Linked DNA regions of Homo sapiens: region 2 is linked to region 1. Evidence: promoter capture Hi-C in 16 types of primary human blood cells and fetal thymus (Javierre and others, 2016). All regions are on one chromosome and are shown on one strand. The core of a region is centred on a gene start or on the middle of the fragment in contact, and the rest is flanking DNA. Distances in the headings are between cores, read along the strand shown.

Region 1 (4,324 bases), core at 1,825-4,324:
TGGCCTGTAGCTCTTCTCGAAGAGAAGAGACTGCTGAGAAAATAAAATCCAACAAAAATGCTGCAGGAGAAAGTCTTTCTAACATGCTCATTCCTCTGCCTTCTCTCACTCTGCATCTTTCCCTAAGAATGCCACCTCCATCTTTTTTCTATGTCAACACTGAGCTTATCCTTCAGATGCTAACTCATTCAGCCTCCCTATTAGGCTCTCAAATGATTACAGGCCCCGGGGATCTTCTCCTTTAATAAATAAGTTCAAATCACAATCAGAATTCATTTTCTCTGTATCCCTGAAACATCACACACACACACACACACACACACACACACACGGTGTGCATTATCTGAATGAATTGTACCAGAAACCAGAAACCCACCGGTAATCCTTTTTTATGCCTTTTATTTCCCCAACACATTTACCAGTCCCAGAGTTAGATTAGGCCTCCTCTGAAGTATCTCTTGAATTTCACTATTCGTATCCATCCCTCAGTGTACCTGCTTACAACAGCTATCTCCACTTGTTTGATCTGTGCCTCCCTTTAATTTGTCTTGCCCAAATCTCCTATTCCAGTATATTATCCACAATGCATTCTAAGTCGTCCTACTAAAATGCAAATCAGATCATGTCACTCCTCTGGATAAAATATTTCAGTGATTCCCCTTTTCTCATGACAAGGGTCTGGATTTCTGTAAATGGTTTATGATGTTCTTTTTTTTTTTTTTTTTTTTTTGAGATGGAGTCTCGCTCTGTCACCCAGGCTAAAGTGCAGTGGCACGATCTCAGCTCACTGCAAGTTCCGCCTCCTGGGTTCACGCCATTCTCCTGCCTCAGCCTCCCGAGTAGCTAGGGCTACGGGTGCCCACCACCACACCCGGATAATTTTTTGTATTTTTAGTAGAGACGGGGTTTCACCGTGTTAGCCAGGATGGTTTCGATCTCCTGACCTCGTGATCTGCCCACCTCGGCCTCCCAAAGGGCCGGGATTACAGGCGTGAGCCACTGTGCCTGGCCTAGTTTATGATGTTCTACACAATCTGGCCTATGATTATCTCTAGTCCAGTTTCATCTCTAGCTATTTTCCCACCTTATGTTAGCCTCTAGACTTTTATAAATAACACAAGCTGTGCCTGAACACTCTTCTACCTGCCCTTTGACTGGCTAACTTTTATATATTTATCCCATCTCAGCTTAGATACTTCCTTTTTCTCCTGGAGGTTCCTAATGCCAGTATCAATGTTCTTCCTGGGTGGTACCACAGCATCCTACGGTGACGAGGAGGAGGTGGCCTAGATCCTTCCTTTTCTTGGTAAAGGGTGGAAGCAGTGTGGATACTTTACTTGGTGTGTTCTGATATCCATGTGTCACTAGGCACTTGTTCTTTGTGTCTTCACATCTCCTCCTGTTGCATTTTAAAGCACTTTCATAGTATATGGTTTTGCCTAATAAAGCATTCTCATAGCAAAAAAAAAAGTATGGTATTGTGCAAATAAGTGCTCACTCCAAATTAGTGGTATATTTATTGAAGTTTAATATTGTGTTTGTGATACAGAAGTATTTGCTTTAATTCTAAATAAAAATTTTATGCTTTTATTGCTGGTTTAAGAAGATTTGGATTATCCTTGTACTTTGAGGAGAAGTTTCTTATTTGAAATATTTTGGAAACAGGTCTTTTAATGTGGAAAGATAGATATTAATCTCCTCTTCTATTACTCTCCAAGATCCAACAAAAGTGATTATACCCCCCAAAATATGATGGTAGTATCTTATACTACCATCATTTTATAGGCATAGGGCTCTTAGCTGCAAATAATGGAACTAACTCTAATAAAGCAGAACGCAAATATTGTAAATATTAGAGAGCTAACAATCTCTGGGATGGCTAAAGGATGGAGCTTGGAGGCTACCCAGCCAGTAACAATATTCCGGGCTCCACTGTTGAATGGAGACACTACAACTGCCTTGGATGGGCAGAGATATTATGGATGCTAAGCCCCAGGTGCTACCATTAGGACTTCTACCACTGTCCCTAACGGGTGGAGCCCATCACATGCCTATGCCCTCACTGTAAGGAAATGAAGCTACTGTTGTATATCTTGGGAAGCACTTGGATTAATTGTTATACAGTTTTGTTGAAGAAGACCCCTAGGGTAAGTAGCCATAACTGCACACTAAATTTAAAATTGTTAATGAGTTTCTCAAAAAAAATGTTAAGGTTGTTAGCTGGTATAGTATATATCTTGCCTGTTTTCCAAGGACTTCTTTGGGCAGTACCTTGTCTGTGCTGGCAAGCAACTGAGACTTAATGAAAGAGTATTGGAGATATGAATGAATTGATGCTGTATACTCTCAGAGTGCCAAACATATACCAATGGACAAGAAGGTGAGGCAGAGAGCAGACAGGCATTAGTGACAAGCAAAGATATGCAGAATTTCATTCTCAGCAAATCAAAAGTCCTCAACCTGGTTGGAAGAATATTGGCACTGAATGGTATCAATAAGGTTGCTAGAGAGGGTTAGAGGTGCACAATGTGCTTCCATAACATTTTATACTTCTCCAATCTTAGCACTAATCAAACATGGTTGAATACTTTGTTTACTATAACTCTTACAGAGTTATAAGATCTGTGAAGACAGGGACAGGGACAATACCCATCTCTGTCTGGTTCATAGGTGGTATGTAATAGATATTTTTAAAAATAAGTGAGTTAATGAATGAGGGTGAGAATGAAGGCACAGAGGTATTAGGGGGAGGTGGGCCCCAGAGAATGGTGCCAAGGTCCAGTGGGGTGACTGGGATCAGCTCAGGCCTGACGCTGGCCACTCCCACCTAGCTCCTTTCTTTCTAATCTGTTCTCATTCTCCTTGGGAAGGATTGAGGTCTCTGGAAAACAGCCAAACAACTGTTATGGGAACAGCAAGCCCAAATAAAGCCAAGCATCAGGGGGATCTGAGAGCTGAAAGCAACTTCTGTTCCCCCTCCCTCAGCTGAAGGGGTGGGGAAGGGCTCCCAAAGCCATAACTCCTTTTAAGGGATTTAGAAGGCATAAAAAGGCCCCTGGCTGAGAACTTCCTTCTTCATTCTGCAGTTGGTGCCAGAACTCTGGATCCTGAACTGGAAGAAAATGTCTATCCAGTAAGTATCTCTGGGAGACTTTTTTAAAACACCTTCATGGATTCATGATAAATGTGCTATTTCAAGGGCTCCTGAAGAGAAGGCATTGATTAATGACCTGTTTAGGAAAGACCCTTGAATTTTGGTGGGGAAATTTTTTCCTGCTTATGTATTAAAGCAACTAGCTAGAATTCAGGTCCAAATTATGGGGGGTTTGTGTGACTTAGCCCGGGGTTTGGAAGCAGTCTTGAGTATGGGGATTTCAGACAGACTTGGGCTCCACTCCTTGCCCAGTCATTTCCTAGTGTGTGACTTTGGACAAATTACCTAACTTTTTAAGTCTAGCTTTTCCTGTATATAGAAAGATGTCACAATAGCTTTTACTCCATTATGTTACTGTGAGATTTAAAAGAGATAATACCATGCAAAGTTCTTTTTATGGTATGTAGGACATAGTAATTGTTTAGTAAAAGGTAATTATTATAATTGAGTCTGGTCAGAGATTCCACTCTTTGAAGTTACAACATGAAACTGAACAGAGGATGTAGAAAGTAAACAAAAATATAGAACCTGAATCTCCTGGTCTGACTATGATGAAAAAGTACTGTAGGTCTTGGGGATTGGTAGAGAAATGAGATGATGGGGAAAAAATTATGGTATAATATGAGTGAATAATGAAAGATGAGGTACCTGACCCAAAAAGCTGTCATCTCTCAACCCCTAGGAAGGAGATAAATGGGTCTCTCCTTGAGGCAAGAAAATCAATGATGCTGTGAGCTGAGCATGTTGATAGGGTGGGAGAATACTGTGGGAAGGACCCTGTTTAGGAACAAATTTCAGGAAGTGAACTGATGGCAGTAGGATTGATTGATTTGTCTTCCGAAGTAAGGAAAAACTGCAGAGGACAGGATTAAGTTCACTGTAACCATTGACATTAAAAGAGAGGTCATGTCTCTTGACATCAGAGCAGTGATCTGGGACCCCCTTCCATACCTGAGTAGTCTTCCCCACCCCCAGCCTCACGTGCTCCTCCCGCCCTCACCTTCGCTTCTCCCCCCACCCCCACCCCCACCCAGCTGAGACTAGACCGGCAGGAGTGAACAGGCTTTGAGCCAGCCCTAGAGTGCCTTCTCTCCTGCAGCTCTGCCTCTATCTCTGCGGACTTTGAGCATCAACATGGGCTTCTTCCTTATTCTTCCACCATTTCAGGGT
Region 2 (4,324 bases), core at 1,172-3,671, 320 kb after region 1:
TATATTTCTGTTTCTCTTTCATAGTATGGATCAGAAAGTGACCCTTTACAAATGAACCACGGAGCACCTCAGTACTTAGCTCATACCTCATACCTTAGTTCCTTAGTACTTAGCCTTGTGCCATCTTGAATGAGATGGAGTGAAGTGAAGCTCGAAGGAGTGACAGAGACATAGTCCTTGCTCTCAAGGGGTCTTTAGCCTGGTCTGGGGGACAAGATTTCCTCATCTACCTCTTGAAAGGTGGCAGGACAACTCCACACTGGAGTGTTCTCACCAGCAGATAGGTGCTGCGGGAGTGTGGCGCCACATTCTTTATAGCCACAGGCTTTCGTGGACTTCCCCTGGGTTCCTTCCTATTGGCTGGTGGACCATAGCGGCAGTGAATGTGCAAACTCATTCACATTAATCATTTTATTTTTATGTACATAGAATTATATGTGTAATCATTTTATGCATATGTGTCTGAGTGTACACACACACACGTGCACATATAGATTTTTAAATTTAGCAAAGATATTTTAGTTACCTTTCCTTCAAGGAACACTTATATTTTCTGCCCTGCTGCTGCTGCTGCTGCTGTTGCTGTTGCTGCTGCTGCCTTTTCATGACAGTTGTTCTTTTTACCTGTTGCCATAACCAATTTGTGAATCATTCTGGATGTCTTCCCAGGCAGATATGAATTGCAGCAGGCTAAAGTGAATCCTCTTCTCAGAGCAAAAATACCACCTCCCGGGGCTCCAGCAGCAAAGCCCTGCACACATGAAAAACTGTGCAAACCCACTCAACCACAATTCAGGTGGGAATAAGAAGTTGGAGCTGCTTATGAAGTCAGACAATTCTTGATAATAGCTTTGATTTTTGTGTTCTTTTGATTATAAAATTCTTGTCAGAATGTTTTAAAAAAAGAAGTGAGACACAGAATTCCCAACTAGATGACTGTGGCAGAGGGAACACAAGATGCCCTCACTGCCACCATTCCCTCCTATTTCTGTTCACGCTAAGCATTTTCTGTCTAATGCACCCACTCTGCGGGGAGCAAAAGCGGCAACACTGGTTCCGCGTCTTGGCAGCTAGCTACAGTGTGATGTCAGTTTTACTCCTGGAGGTTTCTGAGGTCTCCTGCCCCTTGTTTCATAGGAAAGATGGCTTTGGCTTTGTTGCCTCGGTAAAGCGTTGGATTAAGTCCTGAGGCCCTGACATTGGTTGCCCCCTTTTATTGACGCCATCTCCCTGATTGTACATTAGATGATCTGCCCATGGCCAGCTGAGCTTCTTGATGTCTGTGAGCACTGATGGGATTGGTCTTGTCACACGGGCTGGACCCAGACCCTAAAGCAGGTCTTAAAAGCGTTTTCCCATTCCCCAGTGAAGGTGGGAACCAACTGATGGACCGTCACCAGCCTGGCACCCCTTGCTCAGCTGTTTGTAATCAGGTGTCTTCTGCCCCCTGCCTCTCCCAGGGCTATTGCTGTGCCAGTGACCTGACCTTTCCTGGCCCAGTCAATTAAAATCATTTTTTCTGAGTCTTAGAATTCTTGTCACCCCACCATGATAGGGACATCTCAGTTACCTTCTTGGGAAGAACCTTCGGCTTCCTAAATGTTTGCTAGAGTTGCTATACGAATACTACAGACAGGGTGTCCTAAACAACAGAAGCTTGTTTTCTCACAGTCTGATATTAAGGTATCACCAACGTGGGTTTCTTCCGAGACCTCTCTGTCTGGCTTGTAGATGGATACTTTCTCCCTGTGTCTTCACGTGGTCTTCCCTTTGTGTATATCTATATTCTAATCTCCTTTTCTTTCAAAGGACACCAGTCTGTTGGAGTAGGGCCCATCCCCAATTGACCTCATTGTTAACTTAATTACTTCTTTAAGAAGGCCCTATCTCTAAACACAGTCACATTCTGAGGTTCTAGGGGTTAGAACTTCAATATATGAATTTGAGAGTTTGGGGGAGATACAATTCAGCCTGTAACACCAAGATTTTACCCCCAAACTAATAAGTTCTATTGTGTTCTTCTCCCACTTGCAGTTACTGCCTGGCAGTAAGTGTCAGGAGGTGCTTTGGAGGTCCATGGGCAATGGCTCGCTCCAAGCCTGGAATAAATGACCTCTGGGGTTGACAGGCACCGAGAGACAACTGGACCCAGGGCTCTTAACCCTGTCCACCAAAGCCACTCTGCCCCATCTCCCAGAAGGGATCCTCAAAGCTGAGCTATCCCAAGGCACACTTGTTTTCTAACTGAGGGTGTTTTCCTAAATGCCAGTGGGGAAGAACACCAGTGCCGATATGCTAGGCTAGACCCAGCCATGCAGAGTACAGAGGAACTGCCCTTGCCTGCACCAGGCAAATCTTTCATGGGTGTTTTGAGCACTTACTATATACCACATACTGTCCTGGGTATTTACTTTCTTTGGAAAAAAAAAAAAGGCCAGGTGCGGTGGCTCACGCCTGTAATCCCAGCACTTTGGGAGTCCAAGGCAGGTGGATCACAAGGTCAGGAGATCGAGACCATCCTGGCTAATGCGGTGAAACCCTGTCTCTACTTAAAAACACACACACACACACACACACACAAAATTAGCTGGGCATGGTGGCATGCGCCTGTAGTCCCAGCTGCTCAGGAAACTGAGGCAGGAGAATCTCTTTGAACCCTGGAGGCGGAGGTTGCAGTGCTGAGATCGCTCCACTCCACTCCAGCCTGGGTGACAGAGCAAGACTCCATCTAAAAAAAAAAAAAAAAAAAAAAAGAAGAAGAAACCTACCATTCACCATTTTATTATTATTTTTTCTTTTGGTTAAGATCTTTCTATGTTGCCCAGGCTGGTCTCCAGCTCCTGGGCTCAAGTGGTCCTCCTGCCTCTGTCTCCCAAAGTGCTGGGATTACAGATGTAAGCCACTGCACCAGCGACACTATTTTGTTCTTTAACATAACAATCATATTAACACCAAAAATGTAAGGCAGACATATTCTTAAGCAGTTCTTTGCATGAAAATAATTTGGCTTTAAAATACTACACTTTTCTGTTTTTCTCATTCTGCTGTGAACCAGAGACTTCGTTACAAAAAGTTATCATTTGAACTTAGCTTTGAAGGTGAATAGGAGAGAGGTTGGTGTGGGCCTAGGGAAAATTCTACAAAAAAGGATAGGTCATGAATGTTCTGGAAAGAACATAAGCTTTGGAGGTAGACACAGATGGTTTGGAATCTTGGCTCCGGCACACATTGTGTATGACCTTGAGAACAAATATGAACTCATGGTATGGGAGCTCCCTGGCTTTCACACTTGGGCAGTGGGGTGTTAATTTGCATTGGTAGTGGTGAGGATGGAAGTACGTAGGCCTTATTAATATTAGAAGACCTCTAGTGGTACCTCCGATCTCTCCCGGAATCTGTAATACATCCTCAGAATGAGAGTAGCTGTTGTCATTTTTATTGAAGTGGGCACAGATACACAAACAATTGTCATTAAAATGCTGCCGGTCCTAAGAAGCTGTCTCCAGTGCATATGGCTTTCTTCATCCTCATTAGGCATTCCAGGCAGTTACAACCAAGCAGCCGCTTACACACCTGTGGATGTGACTCCACACATATGGATGCATTGCCGTAGTCCTTTGGGATGAAATCTGTGCCAGAGATTGGTCTCATTTCACAAGGTTAGGAAGAAATAGACCGTCATCTAATTGTTAATGAGCTGTGATGAATTTGACATCATAACCAGGGAGAGAAATTTACTGCAAACTAAAGCATTCTTTTCTTTTTTCTTTCTCACTCTTTTTCACCCCAAGACACATATCACATTTTCAGAAGGGTTTTTTCTTGTCTGAGATGGGAAGAGACTTTTGAGCATGTTTGTGCACTGAACAGCAGGAGCCAAGAGAGGGGGAAACTAACAGATGGAGCAAGACCTTGGCAGAAGTAGGAGGTGATGGAATTAGGAGGCAAGTGGAGGGATCTCCACTCGTGCTATGTTACTGCCACGTTCACACACCCATTCCCCAAGGGGGAACAGTTGGCCTTCAAGGTACAATAAAATCACATGTGAAACATAGATTTTGGTGCATGGAGTCCCATTATCTGGGTCCTCATCCAGCACAGTAGAGAAATTAATTATGCCACAGTAGCTTCACATCGTACAAGGAAATACAGGGCATGCTAAACCCCTAACAGTGCATATGGCCAATACTCATAAATTTATAACAGCTCTCCTGTCAGTGCACTGATTTATATGCTATAAATTTATCAGATACAAAAGCAAAGTAAATATGCTAAACAATTTATTCAAATTATTTTATGTGTAGTTTTTTGTTTTGTTTAGTTT

The links. Contacts are between HindIII fragments. The CHiCAGO score rates a contact against its expected background, and 5 or more counts as called.
Region 2: a contact is called between a fragment that was not itself captured here and the fragment with the promoter of RPE65 in region 1, in 7 of 17 cell types (total B cells, naive B cells, M0 macrophages and 4 more). The highest score is 14.3, in total B cells.

The regions. Positions count from the first base shown.
Region 1 is chr1:68,448,704-68,453,027 of GRCh38, reverse strand. It overlaps RPE65 (retinoid isomerohydrolase RPE65), which reads left to right and starts at 3,074. Exons shown (of 14, transcript NM_000329.3): 1 at 3,074-3,133; 2 at 4,322-4,324. The coding sequence starts at 3,123. It overlaps LOC124904198 (a long non-coding RNA gene), which reads right to left. Exons shown (of 2, transcript XR_007066164.1): 2 at 1,505-4,324. The HindIII fragment of the contact is 10,150 bases long and covers 1-4,324 here.
Region 2 is chr1:68,129,319-68,133,642 of GRCh38, reverse strand. All of the region lies in intron 11 of WLS (Wnt ligand secretion mediator), which reads left to right. All of the region lies in intron 8 of GNG12-AS1 (GNG12, DIRAS3 and WLS antisense RNA 1), which reads right to left. Among named protein-coding and RNA genes, the nearest start is that of MIR1262, 52 kb to the left of the region's middle. The HindIII fragment of the contact is 1,525 bases long and covers 1,659-3,183 here.